Linked DNA regions of Homo sapiens: region 2 is linked to region 1. The links are contacts of gene promoters, found by promoter capture Hi-C in human tissues and cell types (Jung and others, 2019). All regions are on one chromosome and are shown on one strand. Each heading gives the region's core, a stretch centred on a gene start or on the middle of the fragment in contact. The rest is flanking DNA. Distances are from core to core; before and after follow the strand shown.

What was found. Contacts are between HindIII fragments. The study calls those that stand out against the background at their distance.
Region 2: a contact is called between a fragment that was not itself captured here and the fragment with the promoter of TAS2R38 in region 1, in 2 of the 25 tissues and cell types used here (H1 embryonic stem cells and small bowel).

The regions. Positions count from the first base shown.
Region 1 is chr7:141,971,567-141,976,575 of GRCh38, forward strand. It overlaps TAS2R38 (taste 2 receptor member 38), which reads right to left and starts at 2,207. Exons shown (of 1, transcript NM_176817.5): 1 at 1,065-2,207. The coding sequence starts at 2,123. The coding sequence ends at 1,122. The HindIII fragment of the contact is 11,635 bases long and covers 1-5,009 here.
Region 2 is chr7:142,212,960-142,217,968 of GRCh38, forward strand. The region is part of intron 46 of MGAM2 (maltase-glucoamylase 2 (putative)); the gene reads left to right. Among named protein-coding and RNA genes, the nearest start is that of PRSS58, 43 kb to the right of the region's middle. The HindIII fragment of the contact is 7,209 bases long and covers 1-5,009 here.

The DNA of each region.
Region 1 (5,009 bases), core at 957-3,456:
GAAGCCAGATGAAGTTGCAAATTTTGTAGCCACTGCAGGTGAAGAAATGGCTAATTTTTGGAGGAAAACTGAGGTGAAGATCTGGATCTATTAAGACCAAGTGCCTGAGAGGAGGAAACAGTTCTCTGGCCCCACAGCTGGCAGAACTAAGAGCCTTGGTGGTGAGCTGCTACAACTGTGAAGCCTGTGAACCACGAAGCCTATCAAGATTTAAATGTCTGGTATACCTTGTTTTCTCCTGAGTCTTTCAGTACCTGATTTGAGGAAAGCCTTCCTGGCTGGGTTCCTGTGCAGGAATACAGACAATGCCAAATCTCTACAAATTTACCTTTCAGCTAGGTGATTTTGGTAGGGTCTCCAACCAGAGAGACCAATACTTGGTACCAGGCAAAGCACCATCTTCAAAGGCAAATTGGGCATAGCCAGAAAGCCCACACAGGGCACCTACTGGCATCCAGGTCACCTACTGAGCAAATATCTGCTTCTCTTCCATCATTATAGAGTAGGTAAAAGTGCATTTCTGGATCAGTGTATTTTCAGACAAAACGACCCCTATCCTCTCGTGCCTCTTGAAGTTGAAGTTATGTGGTACCTCTTGAAGCTGGAATTATGACATAATTATCATTCCAAGTTTGTCTTTGTTTCCATGAAAATTGCGAAGTTTGAAGAGGATTATATCCTTATTGTAGTAGTGAATATTTCCAAAAATGATGCTAGCACAAGTTCCGAGAAAGAGGTTTAACAGTCATGTTAAAAGCCAAACATATTATCTTGGGATTTAGATATTATTTCAGAAGAGATGATTTCTCATGGTTTGATTTATACCAATAATAAGCTATAGTATATAAAGGATTTACACCAAATACTTAATTATTTTGTTCATTTTATCAAAACAAACCTAGGGTACCAACATTATTCTTGCCTAGGCCATGTATAGTGCTTAATTATTTTATTCATCTATAAGTGAGTTCATTGATACAAAGTGGAGAGACTTTCAATTGTGTTTTATAGAAGAAATTGGAAGGCTTTGTGAGGAATCAGAGTTGTATTCCTGAAGAATCAGAGGCATATTTATGAAGACTCACAGGCGTATTAATGAAGAGCTCATTTCATGTCCATTCTCAGCACAGTGTCCGGGAATCTGCCTTGTGGTCGGCTCTTACCTTCAGGCTGCTCTGAGCCCAGAGCAGAATGGTCATCACAGCTCTCCTCAACTTGGCATTGCCTGAGATCAGGATGGCTGCATGCCCAGAGGGACAAGCTGCCATTATCCCAACACAAACCATCACCCCTATTTTGTCGCGCCACAGAATCAGTAGGGGCACAGAGATGAAGGCAGCACAGGATGATATCACAAAGAAGCAGAAAAAGGAGACAAGAGACTTGAGGGCTTTAATGTGGGCCTCCAGGCTGGGGTCACGAGAGTTTCTGGTATAGACCTTCATTGTCCTCATGTGCCTTCCCAGGGAGACAGTCAGCATCCCAGAAGAAACCAGAAACAATAGGAAAGGAGGCACAGACCACAGATAGCAGAAGAGAAAGGAATAAAATAAATTGAGATCTTTAATCTGCCAGTTGAGCCTTGTATTGTTATTCATGAATAGCACAGTTGTGACTGTGAAGTGAGGTCTGCTAAAAAAGCACCAAACACAGAGGACAGTGCAGATGCAGGAGCAAAGAATAATACCCAGGAGCATCTGGGAGATCTTCCTGGAGACCCAGCTTGCCAAGCAGATCAGGAAGGTGTGAGAGAAACGGATGAGCTTGGAGCAGTAAAGCAGGCTGAGGCAGGCAGCAAGCCAGAGGTTGGCTTGGTTTGCAATCATCCATAGCATGATGATGGCTTGGTAGCTGTGGTTCAGTGGTTCACTCAACTTCTGGAAGTGGGTAAGCTGGATAGCACTCAGGAACAGCAGTCCATGCAGGAAAAGCCGGCTGATGCTGAGACACAGCAGCACACAATCACTGTTGCTCAGTGCCTGCCTCTTCACTACATCCCAAAAATTCACCAAGAAAACGAAGGCATTGGTCAGAAACCCCACTGCAAACTCCAGGACTGAAATGAACAGAAATGTACTCCTGACTTCATAGGACACAGTGCGGATGCGAGTTAGAGTCAACATGATGTCACTTCTCTAATTGGCTATTCTACTTCTCTTCTCTAGTTGGCTAATCTAAAGACCTGGTTGCCACCCAGTGCAGAAAGGTAAATGTACGTTCCAAGCCAGGACCTTTCCTTCACAAAGCATCCAGCTCTTTGCCTAGATCTATCCCAAAGCGAGCGCATAAAAAGTTCTGGCAGGAAACTTAGAGGGATGTTGTTTCTCTAGAACATCTCTTGGATACACGTAAGAGCTTATCATAGGGTGGAAGACTGATGGTTCTACCTCTTGGGTGATGCAAGATTAATAAATCCAGGTGTTCCTGTACAACCGCCTTCCCAGAAGGCCATAGCACAGCATCACGGATGCAAACAAAACAGGGCCTCAATTTCCCCAATCCAGTTTTGCATGCCCATCTGGACCTGTGGGGGTGGCGAAGAGAACAGGATTTGCTTATGGGTTTTGAGGCACCCTGCAGCAGGCAAAGCAGATATTCTTGGTGATCTAAGGTTTGAAATAGAGTCTCTTTTCATTTGCATTCCTTCTCTCATCTGTGAAGTAATGACTCTTATCACAGACTGTGTTTTTAATATAGATAAATGCATGGTTCCTTTCCATGTGTCAGTGTATGATTGCAGTTTTATTTGCTGTTGCCAAAGGTTTCATGCAATCATCATTATTATGCCAGGCACTGTGCCTGGCAAGGAGAATATTAACATGAACAAGACTAGCACGCTGTCATGAAGGGAGAGGAAAGGGGGCATAGCTGGTTTGGATTATTATTATGTTTATTTTTTAATTAGTATAAGTTCTGGGGTACATGTGCAGAACATGCAGGCTTGTTACATAGGCATACACCTGCCATGGTGGTTCGCTGCACCCATCAACCCGTTATCTATATTAGGTATTTCTCCTAATGGTCTCCTTCCCCTTGCCCCCTACCCCCTGACAGGCCCTGGTGTTTGATGTTCCCCTCCCTGTGTCCATGTGTTCTCATTGTTCAACTGCCACTTATGAGTGAATTTCCCCCGATAAATCCTTTAAGAGTTATTGGTGCTGCCCCATTGGTGTTTTTCGATACTTTCTCTTTGTATTTTTTATGTTTTCTTTTGACTAAAGCTCCTTTTTTATTATTAGTAGTGACATAAGTCAGTGATTACTAAAGATGTTCACTTTTGTTTTATTCTGAACTGTTCATACGCAGATATTTATGTAGTCCTTATTTGTGCATCATGATGTAGCAGTTGTATTTAATTAATTGTGTTTGTGACCACTTCATTTGGGTCATTCATGCTTACAGAGTGTCAAACACAGAATTCTGCACTTTCAACTTAAGCTAATTTTCTCCTTGTCTTCACCACACCAGGTGGCGGTGTTGCACTAAAGGTGTTTAGAAAAGATGTTTGCCTCCCTAAAAAGTCTAGGTAGAAACTTGCTCTACTGCACAAGCAGAGATATATAACTATACAGTTAGAACCATTTATATCAAGATTATAATCTTTTATTAAAAAATAAAGTTCTTTATGTTATTTCTTGGAACACCAGATCCAATCTTAATTTTTCAATAATCAAGGGCTCTTTCAGAGAAAGGTAACACAAACCTTCATTGATACACCCCCTCCATTTGACTTATGTACACACAGTGTTTGGGATTATCTAAGTAATCTCCTTTGCAGATAGTCCTTAGCTATTGGCTATTTTTTGAAAAATGGTTTACTCAGGAAGCTAAAAACAGTAAAGTCAACTGCAATGCCAGTAAGAGCAGTGGTAGGAACACAAAAGCTCCTTATTTGTTATTAGTAGTGATATAAGTCAGTGACTACATCTTTATCAGATGTAATTAAAAAAATCTTAGTCCCTGGATTTTGCAACTAAACAGATGTTAAAAATTCTTAACCTATATAAATTGGTGTTTCGACTTTTGCTGCCATTTATTTTTGGAGATTGGAATTACATTCTTTGGATTGATTTTTAAAAATTGGTCTTTGTTAGCTTGACAGAAGAACACTATTATTAGTAATATCAAACCTCATTCCCTTAAAATACCTTGCTTAGATGTTTCCAATGACTAGAGAAATGGACATACCAATATATGTTTATTAAGAGCAAAATATATTCCACCTGTTGTAATGGGCATTGAGGACACACTGGTAAACAAAGGCGTATTAGAGGAACTGAAAGAGCACAGCCTTAAAGCCATAAAGCTTAAAGTAAGCCATACCTTACTTTAGAGGAAAAACACCACTAGATGACTTCAGATAGCGGAGTGAACTGAAAGAAACAATGTTGGGGGAGAGACAACGGACAGGAAACATACAATTGGGGTAGTGTCAATAGGAAACACTGGCAGTGGCCATCATCAACAGCACTCAAAACAGATGAAATGGCACCCAGGAAGTCGATGAGGCAGGAAGGAGCTCGGTGCTTTCACGGGGAGAGGGGAGGCCCGCGTGGCTGGCTTGTAGCCACAGGTGAGGCTGGAGGGCGACTTCTTCCACTACCGTGTGATTACAATATAAAGTAACTAGTGATTGGCTATCTCCCATTCTTCCCCCGTGATTGGCTATCTCCTGTTCTCCCCCTGCCGGAATTCCTAGGACAGCGAGACAGGTGGGAAACAACAGACCTAGGAGGAGTCTCTGCACCTCCAATCTCCCCAAATAATCGGGCAAAGCAATGGACTCCAGCTTTTCCAGGAAGCTCCAGCTCCCCAGCAACCGAGTCCTCCCCCATCGCTATTTAACAGCTCCCACCAGGTGGCGCCAGAACACTGCGAGGCCTGGAATTCCTGGCAGGCTCGCAGTGCATCCTCACCTCAGCCGTTTAAATCTAGCAATAATGGGGTTCCGTATCTCACGCAACTGAAATTTTAGACTCCACTTACTGCGTTATGATAGGCTGAATTTC
Region 2 (5,009 bases), core at 931-3,430, 240 kb after region 1:
AGAACAGAAATCATAACAAAGAGTCTCTCAGACCGCAGTGCAATCAAATTAGAATTCAGGATTAAGAAACTCACTCAAAACCACACAACTACAGGGAAACTGAACAACCTGCTCCTGGATGACTACTGAGTAAATAATGAAATTAAGGCAGAAATAAATAAGTTCTTTGAAACCAACAAAAACAAAGACACAACATATCAAAATCTCTGGGAGTTTTCAGAGGGAAATTTATAGCACTAAATGCCCACAGGAGAAAACAGGAAGGATCTAAAATCAACACCCTAACATCATAGTTAAAAGAGCTAGAGAAGCAAGGGCAAACAAGTTCAAAAGCTAGCAGAAGACAAAAAATAACTAAGATCAGAGCAGAACTGAAGGAGAGAGAGACACGAAATACCCTTCAAAAAAATCAGTGACTCCAGGAGCTGGTTTTTTGAAATGATTAACAGAATAGTTAGACCGCTAGCCAGACTAATAAAGAAAAAAAGAGAGAAGAATCAAATAGACACAATAAAAAATGGTAGAGAGGAGATCACCGCTGATCCCACAGAAATACAAACTACCATCAGAGAATACTATAAACACCTCTATGCAAATAAACTAGAAAATCTAGAAGAAATTGATAAATTCCTGGACACATACACCCTCTGAAGGTAAAACCAGGGAGAAGTTGAATCCCTGAGTAGACCAATAACAAGGTCTGAAATTGAGGCACTAAATTAAGAGCCTACCAACCAAAACAGCCCAGGACCAGACAGATTCACAGCCGAATTCTACCAGAAGTACAAAGAGGAACTGGTACCGTTCCTCCTGAAACTATTCCAAACAAGAGGGACTCTGCCCTAACTCATTTTATGAGGTCAGCATCATCCTGATACCAACACCTGGCAGAGACACAATAAAAAAAGAAAATTTCAGGCCAGTATCCCTGATGAACATCAATGCAAAAGTCCTCCATAAAATACTGGCAAACCGAATCCAGCAGCACATCAAAAAGCCATGACCAAGTTGGCTTCATCCTTGGGATGCAAGGCTGGTTCAACATATGCAAGTCAATAATTGCAATCCATCACATAAACAGAACCAATGACAAAAACCACATGATTATCTCAATAGATTCAGAAAAGGCCTTTGATAAAATTCAACACCCTTTCATGCTAAAAACACTCAATAAACTGGGTATTGATGGAACAAATATAAAAATAATATGAGCTATTTATGACAAACCAACAGCTAATATCATATTGAATAGGAAAAAGCTGGAAGCTTTCCCTTTGAAAACCGGCACAAGACAAGGATGCCCTCTCTCACCACTCCTATTCAGCATAGTATTGGAAGTTCTGGCCAGGGCAATCAGGAAAGAGAAAGAAATAAAGCTTATTCAAATAGGAAGAGAGGAAGCCAAATTATCTCTATTTGCAGATGATGTGATTGTATATTTAGAAAACCCCATTGTCTCAGCCGAAAATCTCATTAAGGTGATAAGCAACTTCAGCAAAGTCTCAGGATACAAAATCAATGTGCAAAAATCACAAGCATTTCGATACACCAATAATAGACAGCCAAATCATGAGCAAACTCCCACTCACAATTGCTACAAAGAGAAGAAGATACCTAGGAATACAACTTACAAGGGATGTGAAGGACCTCTTCAAGGAGAACTACAAACCACTACTCAAGGATATAAGAGAGGACACAAGCAAATGGAAAAACATTCCATGCTCATGGATAGGAAGAATCAGTATCGTGAAAATGGTCATACTTCCCAATGCAAATCAAAACCACAATGAGATATCATCTCATGCCAGTTAGAATGGCCATTATCAAAAAGTCAGGAAACAGCAGATGCTGGAGAGGATGTGGAGAAATAGGAATGCTTTTACACTGTCAGTGGGAGTGTAAATTAGTTCAACCATTGTGGAAGACAGTGTGGTGATTCCTCAAGGATCTAGAACCAGAAATACCATTTCACCCAGCAATCCCATTACTGGGTATATACCCAAAGGGTTATAAATCATTCTGCTATAAAGAAACAGGCACAAGTCTGTTTACTGCAGCACTGTTCACAATAGCAAAGACTTAGAACCAACCCAAATGCCCATCAGTGTTAGACCAGATAAAGAAAATGTGGCACATATATACCATGGAATAGTATGCAGCCATAAAAAAGAATGAGTTCATGCCCTTTTCAGGCTCATGGATGAAGCTGGAAACCATCACACTCAGCAAACTAACACAGGAACAGAAAACCAAACACTGCATGTTGTCACTCATATGTGGGAGTTGAATAATGAGAACATATGGGCACAGAGAGGGGAACTTCACACACCAGGGCCTGTTGGGGGTGGAGGGCAAGGAGACAGATAGCATTAGGAGAAATCCCTAATGTAGATGACGGGTTGATGGGTTGATGGATGCAGCAAACCACCATGGCACATGTATACCTATGTAACAAACCTGCATGTTCTGCACATGTATCCCAGAACTTAAAGTATAATTAAAAAAAAAAAAAAACATTTGGCTGAGCGTGGTGGCTCATGCCTGTAATGCCAGCACTTTGGGAAGCCAAGGCAGGTGGATCACCTGAGGTCGGGAGTTTGAGACCAGCCTGACCAACATGGAGAAAACCCTGTCTCTACTCAAAATCCAAAAATTAGGCGTGGTGGCGCATGCCTGTAATCCCCACTACTTGGGAGGCTGAGGCGGGAGAATCGCTTGAACCTGGGAGGCAGAGGTTGTGGTGAGCCGAGATCGCGCCATTGCACTCCAGCCTGGGTAGCAAGAGCGAAACTCTGTCTCAAAAAAAAAAAAAAAAAAACCTCATGAATAATTTTATATTGAAAAATGTTGTAATAATAACATTTTGGCTATATCATGTAAATAAAATATATTTTGAAATTAATGTACCCTTTTTCTTTTCACTTTTTAAAAAAATGTGACTACTAGAAAGTATTCAATTACATATATAGTTTCCCTTATATTTCTATAAGATGGCATAGACTTCCATGTTGCCTACTACCTCTTTTTAGCTAGAGTCTATATTTTTTCTGCTGTTATTACATTGTGTTATTTTTTAACACATGTATCAGATGTTTGGCACATATAAATCTCATGGTCAGCTAAGACCTTCAAATTATTCTCATAGACATGATTATCAGGTCATATTGTTCCATCCTGCATTTGGCCTCTCTGAAACTAACTGCTAGACTTTGTATACTAATTAAATTTGTGTATTCTCTGCCCTTAAGAGTAGTTGGGTTGAAGACTCTACATATTTTTTCCTCTCAAATATTATTTTAATGAATATTATTTTAATGATCTGGAAGTCCTGAATTTTAGTTCTATTTCTACTGCTATTATTCAAATTCGGAGAGACACTGTTTAATCTGTGTTTTTTAAAAAATTGTAAAACATTAGATTGCCCTTTAATAACATCTAACTTCAAAATTCCATTTTTCTGATAAATGAATTCTTATTTCTGTGATGTTTGATAGATTATTTCCTTAAGAATAAGGGGCCTGAAATGAAAGAAAGATCGCAACTTTCCTTAGGGGATAACTATTATCAGCGGTTTCCTGGTTGGTAAACCAGCTTGTGGGGGTGGGAGATGATTTGTAACATTTGCTAATTTCTGTAGTGTAGCTTCTCCCACCATCTTAACCAATTTCAAGCATCAGCTGGCTTGCAAAATTCTAGGAAATTTAAAAATCAACTCTCTCAAATCAATAAGAACTAGCTTTAGTACACCCATTTATTTTGAGCTGTATATTTTTTCCTTGATTCTGCCTGCCCAGTAGCAAAAGTCTTGTTCATCCTTCATGATGCCAATTGAACATGTTTCTTTTTTCTCTTCCTACTGCAGCCATCATAATTGAGAAATGCATAGCTTCCCTCTGCTACAACTATCTCCTTGATTATTGCATGTAATCTTCAAAATCTTTCCTTACATACCTAACTGGCCTCACGTCTCTGTTTGCTCAGCACCAGCTATGGTTGTCCTTGCACTCCTCCATGAATGTGGCTTTGTTCAATGTGTCCCTGTACCCCTATTTCCTGTCTCATAATAAATCCTTCCCATGCTTACCAGGAGTTCCGAAGTTACATGTCCTTCCTAAGTTCTCTCTTGACCCTCTTCCTCCCATGTAATTTTTCCTTTCTCTTCACATCCATGAAAAATATCCACTATGATTTTCATTTGGGCCTTCATCATGTGCCACCTCATAATTTATGTCATATTATTTTAACCCTTGTATTGATACTTAAACAATTCATGATTTGGTTAACTTCCTATGTTTCTTGCACACTGTCCTCAGTCTAGGGACTGTTTGCCACACTTCTTTGTTCACTCTAAATTAACTTGTGCAGTACTATGTACAGGGGCACCTTGCGCTTCCAACTTTACCTATGTTATCTAGCCTTGTCGCTTTGGACTACTCACTTCATTTTCCAGAGCCTCAGTTTCCTTATCTCTAAGATAGCAATAATGATATTTTCTTTTCAAAATGATTATAAGAATACTTATGATATAGGGAAAATAACTTTCATAATGCTGGTACAATAAACTTATTTGTGGCATTACCCAATTTATTATAGCAGGTACTCAGGAAGTATGTCTTCATGAAGTGTGTGGAGAGTAGAATTATAGTAACCAGAGGCTGGGAAGGGGTGGGGGCCATAAAGAGAGGTTGGTTAGTGGGAACAAAGAGACAGTTAAATAGCAGGAGTGAGTTCTTGTGTTTGCTAACATACTAGGGTGATGATAGTTAACAACAATTTATTGTATATTTCAAAATAGCTAGAAGAGAATATTTGAAATGTTTCCAACACGAAGAAATGATGAATGTGGCTAGGTGTGGTGGCTCACACCTGTAATCCCATCACTTTGGGAGGCCGAGGCAGGAGGATCACGTGGTCAGGGATTTGAGACCAGCCTGGCCAACATAGTGAAACCCCGTCTCTATTAAAAATACAAAAATTAGCCGGGTATGGTGGCACACACCTATAGTCCC